3 separate regions of the Homo sapiens genome follow, and all the other regions are linked to region 3. Evidence: promoter capture Hi-C in 16 types of primary human blood cells and fetal thymus (Javierre and others, 2016). All regions are on one chromosome and are shown on one strand. Each heading gives the region's core, a stretch centred on a gene start or on the middle of the fragment in contact. The rest is flanking DNA. Distances are from core to core; before and after follow the strand shown. Region 1 overlaps SLA2 (Src like adaptor 2). Region 2 has its middle 1.5 kb from the start of SLA2. Region 3 holds the start of MTCL2 (microtubule crosslinking factor 2).

Evidence for each region. The method cuts DNA at HindIII sites, captures the fragments that hold promoters and counts their contacts. A CHiCAGO score of 5 or more calls a contact.
Region 1: a contact is called between a fragment that was not itself captured here and the fragment with the promoter of MTCL2 in region 3, in 1 of 17 cell types (endothelial precursors). The highest score is 5.7, in endothelial precursors.
Region 2: a contact is called between a fragment that was not itself captured here and the fragment with the promoter of MTCL2 in region 3, in 1 of 17 cell types (endothelial precursors). The highest score is 5.6, in endothelial precursors.

The regions. Positions count from the first base shown.
Region 1 is chr20:36,626,139-36,628,838 of GRCh38, reverse strand. All of the region lies in intron 5 of SLA2 (Src like adaptor 2), which reads left to right. Among named protein-coding and RNA genes, the nearest start is that of SLA2, 19 kb to the left of the region's middle. The HindIII fragment of the contact is 279 bases long and covers 1,140-1,418 here.
Region 2 is chr20:36,646,310-36,649,009 of GRCh38, reverse strand. No RefSeq gene overlaps it. Among named protein-coding and RNA genes, the nearest start is that of SLA2, 1.5 kb to the right of the region's middle. The HindIII fragment of the contact is 878 bases long and covers 935-1,812 here.
Region 3 is chr20:36,862,279-36,864,978 of GRCh38, reverse strand. It overlaps MTCL2 (microtubule crosslinking factor 2), which reads left to right and starts at 1,441. Exons shown (of 15, transcript NM_080627.4): 1 at 1,441-2,321. The coding sequence starts at 1,635. RefSeq lists silencers at 732-1,621, 1,692-1,841. The HindIII fragment of the contact is 4,947 bases long and covers 1-2,583 here.

The DNA of each region.
Region 1 (2,700 bases), core at 30-2,529, 240 kb after region 3:
CACACCTGTAATCCCAGCACATTGTGAGGCCAAGGCAGGAGGATCACTTGAGTCCAGGAGTTCAAAACCAGTCTGGGCAACAAAGGGAGACCCCCATCTCTTAAAAAAAAAAAATTTTTTTTTAAGTTAGCTAGGTGTGGTGGCATGTGCGTGTTGTCTAAGCTACTTGGGAGGCTGAGGCAGGAGGATCACTTAAGCCCAAGAAGTCGATGCTGCAGTGAGCTATGATCACACCACTGGACTCCAGCCTGGGTGACAGACCAAGACCCTGTCTCAAATAAATAAATAAATTCAATAAATCAACACTGATGCCTGTACCCCACCTCCAGGGTTTCTGATCTCACTGGTCAGGGATGTGGCCTGCACACTGTAAAAGCTGCCCAGGTGATTCTGATGGGTAGCCAGGGTCGGAACCCACTAATTTAGTGCGTCTGGACCAGTGCGTGTTTGTAGTGAAATTGAGCAGAGAACATGACCATGGTTGGGGTAAACATTGCGTCATAAAACTTTTGTTTCAGATTTTGTATAAGGTGTGTCCTGCGTCACAGTGTAAACTTTTATACTGTGGTTTGACACCACAGTGACTCTAGGGGCCCAAGTGACGTCATAGAACAGTGGTTCTCAGACTTGAGTGTACAGGACTCATCAGGGGAACTTGTTGACACTGTAGACTTGTAGGCCCTACCGCAGACCTAACTGAATCAGACTTTTGGGGGCAGAGGTCAGAAATCTGCTTCTTGGACAGGCTCTCTGGATGGTTCTATTGTTCTCTTGAGTTTGAAAACAGAGTTCCAATCTAGGGAACCCAGAATGAAGTAATAAGAGACAATGTACTTTACATTATGCTCTTGTCGTATATAATGGGAATTAGCCATTGACCAAGTGAGTGAGTGATGCCAGGATCAGCTTTTCATTGGCCCAAAGGCACTGATTCCACACGAGCTTCAAGCCTGCATGTGGACCAAGGAGGAAGGCCTGGGGCCCTGAGCTACCAGGAACACTAATCAGAGTCCGGAGCAGGAAGACCCCATCTTCCCAAGTCCTTCTGGCATACCTGGCTATATGATAGGCCTCGGGACAGCCATGGCCAGGCTCTAGTCAGGCCCCAAATCTTGCTCCGTGAAGGGGGCCTAGAAGCTTTGTGGAGGTCACAGGATTGTGCAGAGGTCAGCACAGGGTTAGGGACAGGCCCCAGCAGCAGCCCCTCTGCGCTGTCCTGCTGTATATCTGTTCTGTGTCAGGCACTATAAGGGAGATTGATGAGCAAGACGTGGTTCCTGCCCCTGCAGGGCTCACCTCTGTCCACTGTCAGTTGGGAAACACTTACTGAGCATCTCCTCCGAGTCAGGCCTGCTAAGTCATGGCTTTTGTCCTCAGGGTGCAGACAGTGGAGGGTGCAACATTCAATCCCTAAAGCTTCTTAGAGGCCTCAGCAGAGAAGGTTCAGGAGGGTCCTGCTAGGCCCACTTCTCACATGCAGCTCCTTATCTGATCCCTCATCCCTCACTCCCAGCATCATCACTGGAATACCTGACCCCAGAGGTCCCGGAGGTGATGTTGCCTAAGCCTGCTGGAGCTTTCTGAAATTAGGACCTTATACTTGGCCTTTCTTTCTGGTGGGTCCTCCTCTAGGCTCCGCGTCCAGCCACAGCTTCCACTGTTCCCTCTGGACCCTCTGCCCACCAGCCACTCTGTAAACACCTTGTTCTTTCTACCGCTGCATCCTTACACATACCCCTCCCTCCATCTGGAAAGCCTGCCCTCCGCTTCTCCTCACGGCAAGCTCACACTCATCCTTCGCCATTCTTTCCAGTGGGACTTTCCCAGACTACCACCTACCCAGACTATCGCCTTCCCAGACTATCACCTACCCAGGCTATCGCCTTCCCATACTATGTCAATTTTTGTTCTCAACTCCCATAGCATCTTGAAAATACCTCTTCTGTAGCTATAATAGGTTTATCTCTTTTCTTTTCCTCTTTTTTTTTTTTTTTTTGAGATGGAGTCTTGCTGTCGCCCAGGCTGGAATGCAGTTGGCGGGATCTCGGCTCACTGCAAGCTCTGCCTCCCGGTTTCACGCCATTCTCCTGCCTCAGCCTCCCGAGTAGCTGGGACCACAGGCGGCTGCCACCACACCCGGCTAATTTTTTGTATTAGTAGAGATGGGGTTTCACCATGTTAGCCAGGATGGTCTCGATCTCCTGACCTTGTGATCTGCCCGTCTGGGCCTCCCAAAGTGCTGGGATTACAGGCATGAGCCACCGCGCCCAGACTTTTTTTTTTTTAAGACAGGGTCACCCAAGCTGGAGTGCGGTGGCACTATCTCGGCTCACTGCAACCTCCACCTCCCAGGCCCAAGCGATTCTCCCACCTCAGCCTCCTGAGTAGCTGGGACTACAGGTGAATGCTTCCACGCCCTGCGAATTTTTGTGTGTGTTTTTTTTTTTTTAGACGGAGTCTCGTTCTGTCATTGGGCTGGAGTGCAGTGGCACAATCTCGGCTCATTGCAACCTATGCCTCCTGGGTTCAAGCAATTCTCCTGCCTCAGCCTCCCGAGTAGCTAGGATTACAGGTGCGTGCCACCACGCCCAGCTAATTTTTGTATTTTTAGTAGAGACAGGGTTTCACCATGTTGGCCAGGATGGTCTTGATCTCTTGACCTTGTGATCTACCCACCTTGGCATCGTAAAGTACTGGGAT
Region 2 (2,700 bases), core at 124-2,623, 220 kb after region 3:
TCAAAAGGATATGAGGCTGGGTGCAGTGGCTCACACCTGTAATCCCAGCAGTTTGGGAGGCAGGAGGACTGCTTGAGCCCAGGAGTTCAAGACCAGCCTGGGCAATATAGTGAGACCCTGTCTGTATTCTAGAAACAGAAAAAAATAAAATAAAAAGGATACGATAGGCTGGGCACGGTGGCTCACGCCTGTAATCCCAGAACTTTGGGAGGCCGAGGTGGGTGGATCACGAGGTCAGGAGATTGAGACCATCCTGGCTAACACGGTGAAACCCCGTCTCTACTAAAAATACAAAAAGTTAGCTGGGTGTGGTGGTGGGTGCCTGTAGTCCCAGCTACTCAGGAGGCTGAGACAGGAGAATGGTATGAACCCGGGAGGCGGAGCTTGCAGTGAGCCGAGATTGCGCCACTGCACTCCAGCCTGGGTGACAGAGCAAGACTCTGTCTCAAAAAAAAAAAAAAAGGATACGATAAAGGATACAGGTAAATGGCCAGATAAAGAAGTATGTAGGAGGCTGGACACAGTGGCTCAAGCCTGTAATCCCAGCACTTTGGGAAGCCAAGGCGGGTGGATCACCTGAGGTCAGGAGTTCGAGACCAGCCTGGCTAACATGATGAAACCCCGTCTCTACTAAAAATACAAAAATTAGCTGGGCGTGGTGGTGCACACCTGTAATCCCAGCTACTCAGGAGGCTGGGGCAAGAGGATTGCTTGAACCCGGGAGGCAGAGGATGCGGTGAGCCTAAATTGTGCCACTCCACTCCAGTCTGGACAACAGAGCAAGAATCTGTCTAAAAATAATAATAATAATACATAGAGCAAGGTCTGGAGGGGTCCCAGGGAGTTGGGGTGTGCCACCCTTCTGGTGTGTTGGATGTGTTCACCAACCTGGAAACTCTCTGAACCTCGTACTTTAGGGATTTTTATGGAAGCTTCATCACATAAGCATTATCAATTATTAACTCAATCTCGAGCTCCTCTCCCCACTCCAGAGGATGAGGTGGGACTGAAAGCCCCAAGCTCATAATGATGGCTTTGTCTTTCTAGTGACCAGTCCCCATCCAGGAGCCCACCAAGTGTTGCCTCATTAGAACAGAAAACACTTCTGTCACCGAGGAAATTAGAAGGGTTTTAGCAGCTCTGGCCAGGAGCCAGGGAGGAACACCAGTGCATATTTCTTAGTGGATAGACCTAGGATTTTAAATTTTGTAATTCTTAGGTGCCTCCCTAAGTAGAAAAGGAGAGTTATGCCGTGGGATTCTTTTAAGAAGAGACCAGAGATTCCCTACTTCCTGCCCCATTCATGAACTGCACCTTGAGGCTTGTTTTGAAGATGTGCGTATCATAAGAAGACGGGCATTACAGTTGTATGGCAGCAGGAGTGGGAAGGTGGGCTCAAGCTCAAGTCCCTCCCTGCCAAGGCCCACATCCCTGAGTGGCTGTCACCCATTCTAACGTCCTGATTAGAACTCTCTTGCAGAAGTGTGCCTCCACTCTGGCTCCTTCAGCTCTGTGTGCCAAGTGCCTACAAGGATAAAAATCAAACCAGCCTTCCCTAGGATCAAAGGAGAACCTGAGCAGGAGTGCTGTAGCTGGCAAGGCCCCAGAAAGGGCTGCATGGGCTGAGCTGGAGTCAGGAATCATTTCAGTGCAGTGGGCCCTTTGTCTCCAAGAGTACTAATCCCCCTAATGGGGAAGCAGCGAGAGGGTGTGGTTAAATCTTAATGAAGAGTGGGACTGAAGGTAACACACTGATCAAAGACAATTCAGCCAGAGTCAGATTCTTTATCCTAGACCAGTGATTCTCAAGCTTGGGCATGGACTGTGGCTCATGCTTGTAATCCCAACACTTAGGGAGGTGGAAGTGGGAGGAACAATTGAGGCCAGGAGTTTGAGATTAGATGGAGCAGCACAGTGAAACCTCATCTGTACAAAAAAAATTTAAAATTAGCCAGGAGTGCTGGTGCACACCTGTAGTCCTAGCTACTCAAGGCTGAGAAGGGAGGATTACTTGAGCCTGGGTCAAGGCTGCACTAAGCTATGATTGTGCCACTGCACTCTATCCTGGGTGACAAAGCAAGACCCTGTAAAAAAAAAAAAAAAAAAAAAAAAAAAAAAATCAAGCCTGGGCATGCATCGGAATCACCTGGAGGCATGAAAACAGATTGCTGGGCCTACCTCCAGAGTATGATTCCATAGATCTGGGATGCGGCCTGAGAATTTGCATGTCTAACAAATTCCCGCTGAGGCTGCTGGTCTAGGGACCATACTTGGAGACCACTGTCCAGATACTGCTGCTATTCAAAGTGTGGTCCCCAGACTGGCAACATGGGGGTCACCTGGGAGCGTATTAGAAATGCAAAATACTGAACTCTGCCCCAGACCTTCTGAATCAGAGCCTGCAGTGCAACAAGATCCCCAGGTGATTCCTATACACATTAAAGGCTGAGAAGGCAGTGCTTCCCACACTCGTCAGTCAAGGGAATCTCCTGCAGGGTTTAAAATTTAGATTCCTGGGCTCCCTATCTGGAGACTTGGATTTAGAAAGTTTGGGAGATCCCAGAAATTGCTACAATTAAGTCCCGCTGAGTGATTATTATGGTCAGGCCAGCATGGGAACTCCGGCTCATTTTCCTCAGTCCTGTGTTCCTTGGACAAGACTAAGCCACAAAGCCAGAGAAAAACCTTTTGCTCCACGAT
Region 3 (2,700 bases), core at 192-2,691:
GGCGTAGCGGCCAGGCGGTGTGGGGGCTGGGGAAGGTGTGAGAGACATGGGAAAATCAACACGGCCAGGAGCCAAGGAGACGCCCAGACGCCCGGGAGGAAAGAAAACACGCCCATCAGAGCTCAAGTCCTCCTGCACTGCTCCTGGTGGGGACGTGTGGGGTCAGGGCAACCGTCCCAGCCCATGCCAGCCCCCACGGGGGCCAAAACCGCCTTCCAAAGCATCCGCTAGGCTGACATCTCGTAATAGGTCCCCTCCATTTTATTTTTGTTTTTATTTATTTGTTTATTTTTTTGAGATGGAGTCTAGCTCTGCCACCCAGACTGGAGTGCAGTGGCGCGACCTCGGCTCACTGCAACCTCCGCCTCCCGGGTTCAAGCGATTCTCCTGCCTCAGCCTCCCGAGTAGCTGGGATTACAGGCACGCGCTACCACGCCCGGCTAATTTGTGTATTTTTAGTAGAGACGGGGTTTCATCATGTTGGTCAGGCTGGTCTCGAACTCCTGACCTCGTGATCCACCCGCCTCGGCCTCCCAAAGTGCTGGGATTACAGGCATGAGCCACCGCGCCTAGCTACGGGTCGCTTCCATTTTAGCCGTACAGAGCCTGAAACCCGGGTCGGGGGCGCATGGGGAGAAATATCCGCCGGTCAAGGTGCGCGAGCCAGGCATGCACACAGGGCTTCACGGTCCCTATGCCAGGAGAGGGAAGCCGAGGCAGGGGGAGCCCGAGCGCGCCCGGGAGGTGTGAGCTTTGGGTCCCATCGGCGCCGCCTAGACCGTGAGCTTGGCGCGTGCACCCCAGGCTTCAGTTTACGCATCTGTGCGATGGGATCGCGGCTCCGGCGATGCCGGCTAAGGGGGCGGAGTTCGCGCACGCTCGGCACGGGGCGAGGGGCGAGGCGCTGGGCGTGCATGGATGCGGGTTCCTGCGAACTGAGGTCCGCCCGGCCTCGGCCCGGGAGTCCCGGCTCCCGCCGCTCTCGCAGGCCCTGCCCGGACGCCGGGCGCAGGGGCGCCTCCGCCGGGTGCCTTCCCCGAGCGGGCAGGGGAGGAGGCGGCGGAGCGGAGGAGGAGGGAGCCCGGGCCGCGGCTGCCCGCGCCAGCCTGACCCTCGAAGGGGTCGCTGTTGCCTCGCAGATCCCTCCCTCGCTCCCTGCCTGCGTCCCTCCCTGCCGCTCCCGCCGCGTCCGCCTTTTGTTCGCGGAACCGCGCGCCCCCGAGCCGAGGCGGCGGGGCGGGGAGCTGGCGGGGCTGCGCGGGGGGCGGGCTGCGCCGGGCGGAGCCGGGGCCCGGGCCGCAGCCGGACTCGGAGCCCGAGGGAGCGATCGGCGTGCGGGCGGCGGGGGCCCGGGCGCGCTCCGGGGGCGCGGCGAGGCCGAGGGGGCGGGCGCCGGGCGGAGCCGCAGCCGGAGCCGGGGCGCCTGGAGGCGGTCGGGCCGCACTCTCCGAGCCCAGAGCAGCGGAGAGACCGCGCGGCGGGGCTTGGGACGGGGACGCGGTGTCGGGGCCGAGGTGGGCCGAGAGCAGCCGCAGCCCCAGCGGCCGGAGCCGCGCCGGGTCCCTCCCCAGGGACGTCGAGGCCGGGCGGGCCTGGGCCATGCGCGCAGCTCGCTGAGGCCGAGGGAGGCCGCGATGGAGGCGCCGGCGGCCGAGCCCCCGGTCCGGGGCTGCGGTCCCCAGCCCGCGCCTGCACCCGCGCCTGCCCCGGAGAGGAAAAAGAGCCACCGCGCGCCGTCGCCGGCCCGGCCCAAAGACGTGGCCGGCTGGTCGCTGGCTAAGGGCCGCCGCGGCCCAGGCCCGGGCTCAGCAGTCGCCTGCAGCGCCGCGTTCTCCTCACGGCCGGACAAGAAGGGGCGCGCAGTGGCTCCCGGGGCGCGCGGTGCGGGTGTGCGGGTGGCCGGGGTCCGCACCGGGGTCCGTGCCAAGGGCCGTCCGCGCTCGGGTGCGGGGCCGCGACCGCCACCGCCGCCCCCCAGCCTCACGGATAGCAGCTCGGAGGTGTCGGACTGCGCGTCGGAGGAGGCGCGCCTGCTGGGCCTGGAGCTGGCGCTGAGCAGCGACGCCGAGTCCGCGGCCGGGGGCCCGGCGGGGGTCCGTACGGGGCAGCCGGCCCAGCCCGCGCCCTCCGCGCAGCAGCCCCCGCGGCCGCCCGCCTCCCCGGACGAGCCGTCGGTGGCCGCGTCGTCGGTGGGCAGCAGCCGCTTGCCGCTCAGCGCCTCGCTTGCCTTCTCCGACCTCACCGAGGAGATGCTGGACTGCGGGCCCAGCGGCTTGGTGCGGGAGCTGGAGGAGCTGCGCTCGGAGAACGACTATCTCAAGGTGGGGGCGCCCGGGTAGAAAGGGAGGTCGCAGGGGTCGCCGGCTGTCACAGTCCCGCGGGCCTGAGGCACCAGCCGGCCCTCCTTCCCACTGAACAATCCGGAGAAAGGGGCCCAAGCCCTCTGGGGACCACTCTGAGGTGGATCTGGGGCTCCCTCATTCCCCCCGCCCCCTCTCAACTTTATTTGGGAAGCGCGCTCCTGAAAAAGACCTTGGAACTGGCTACAGGGCCCTAACCTGGGAGCGGGGACTTGAGAAAGCTTTGGAGCGTTCTGGGAGGCGTTGCTGAGGTGGGGGTGGGTAGCCAGGGAAGGGATGGATCTCTGCCTTCAGCTGCCCAGAACCTCCACGCCCAGGCTCTCCTTCTTGGGACGGGATT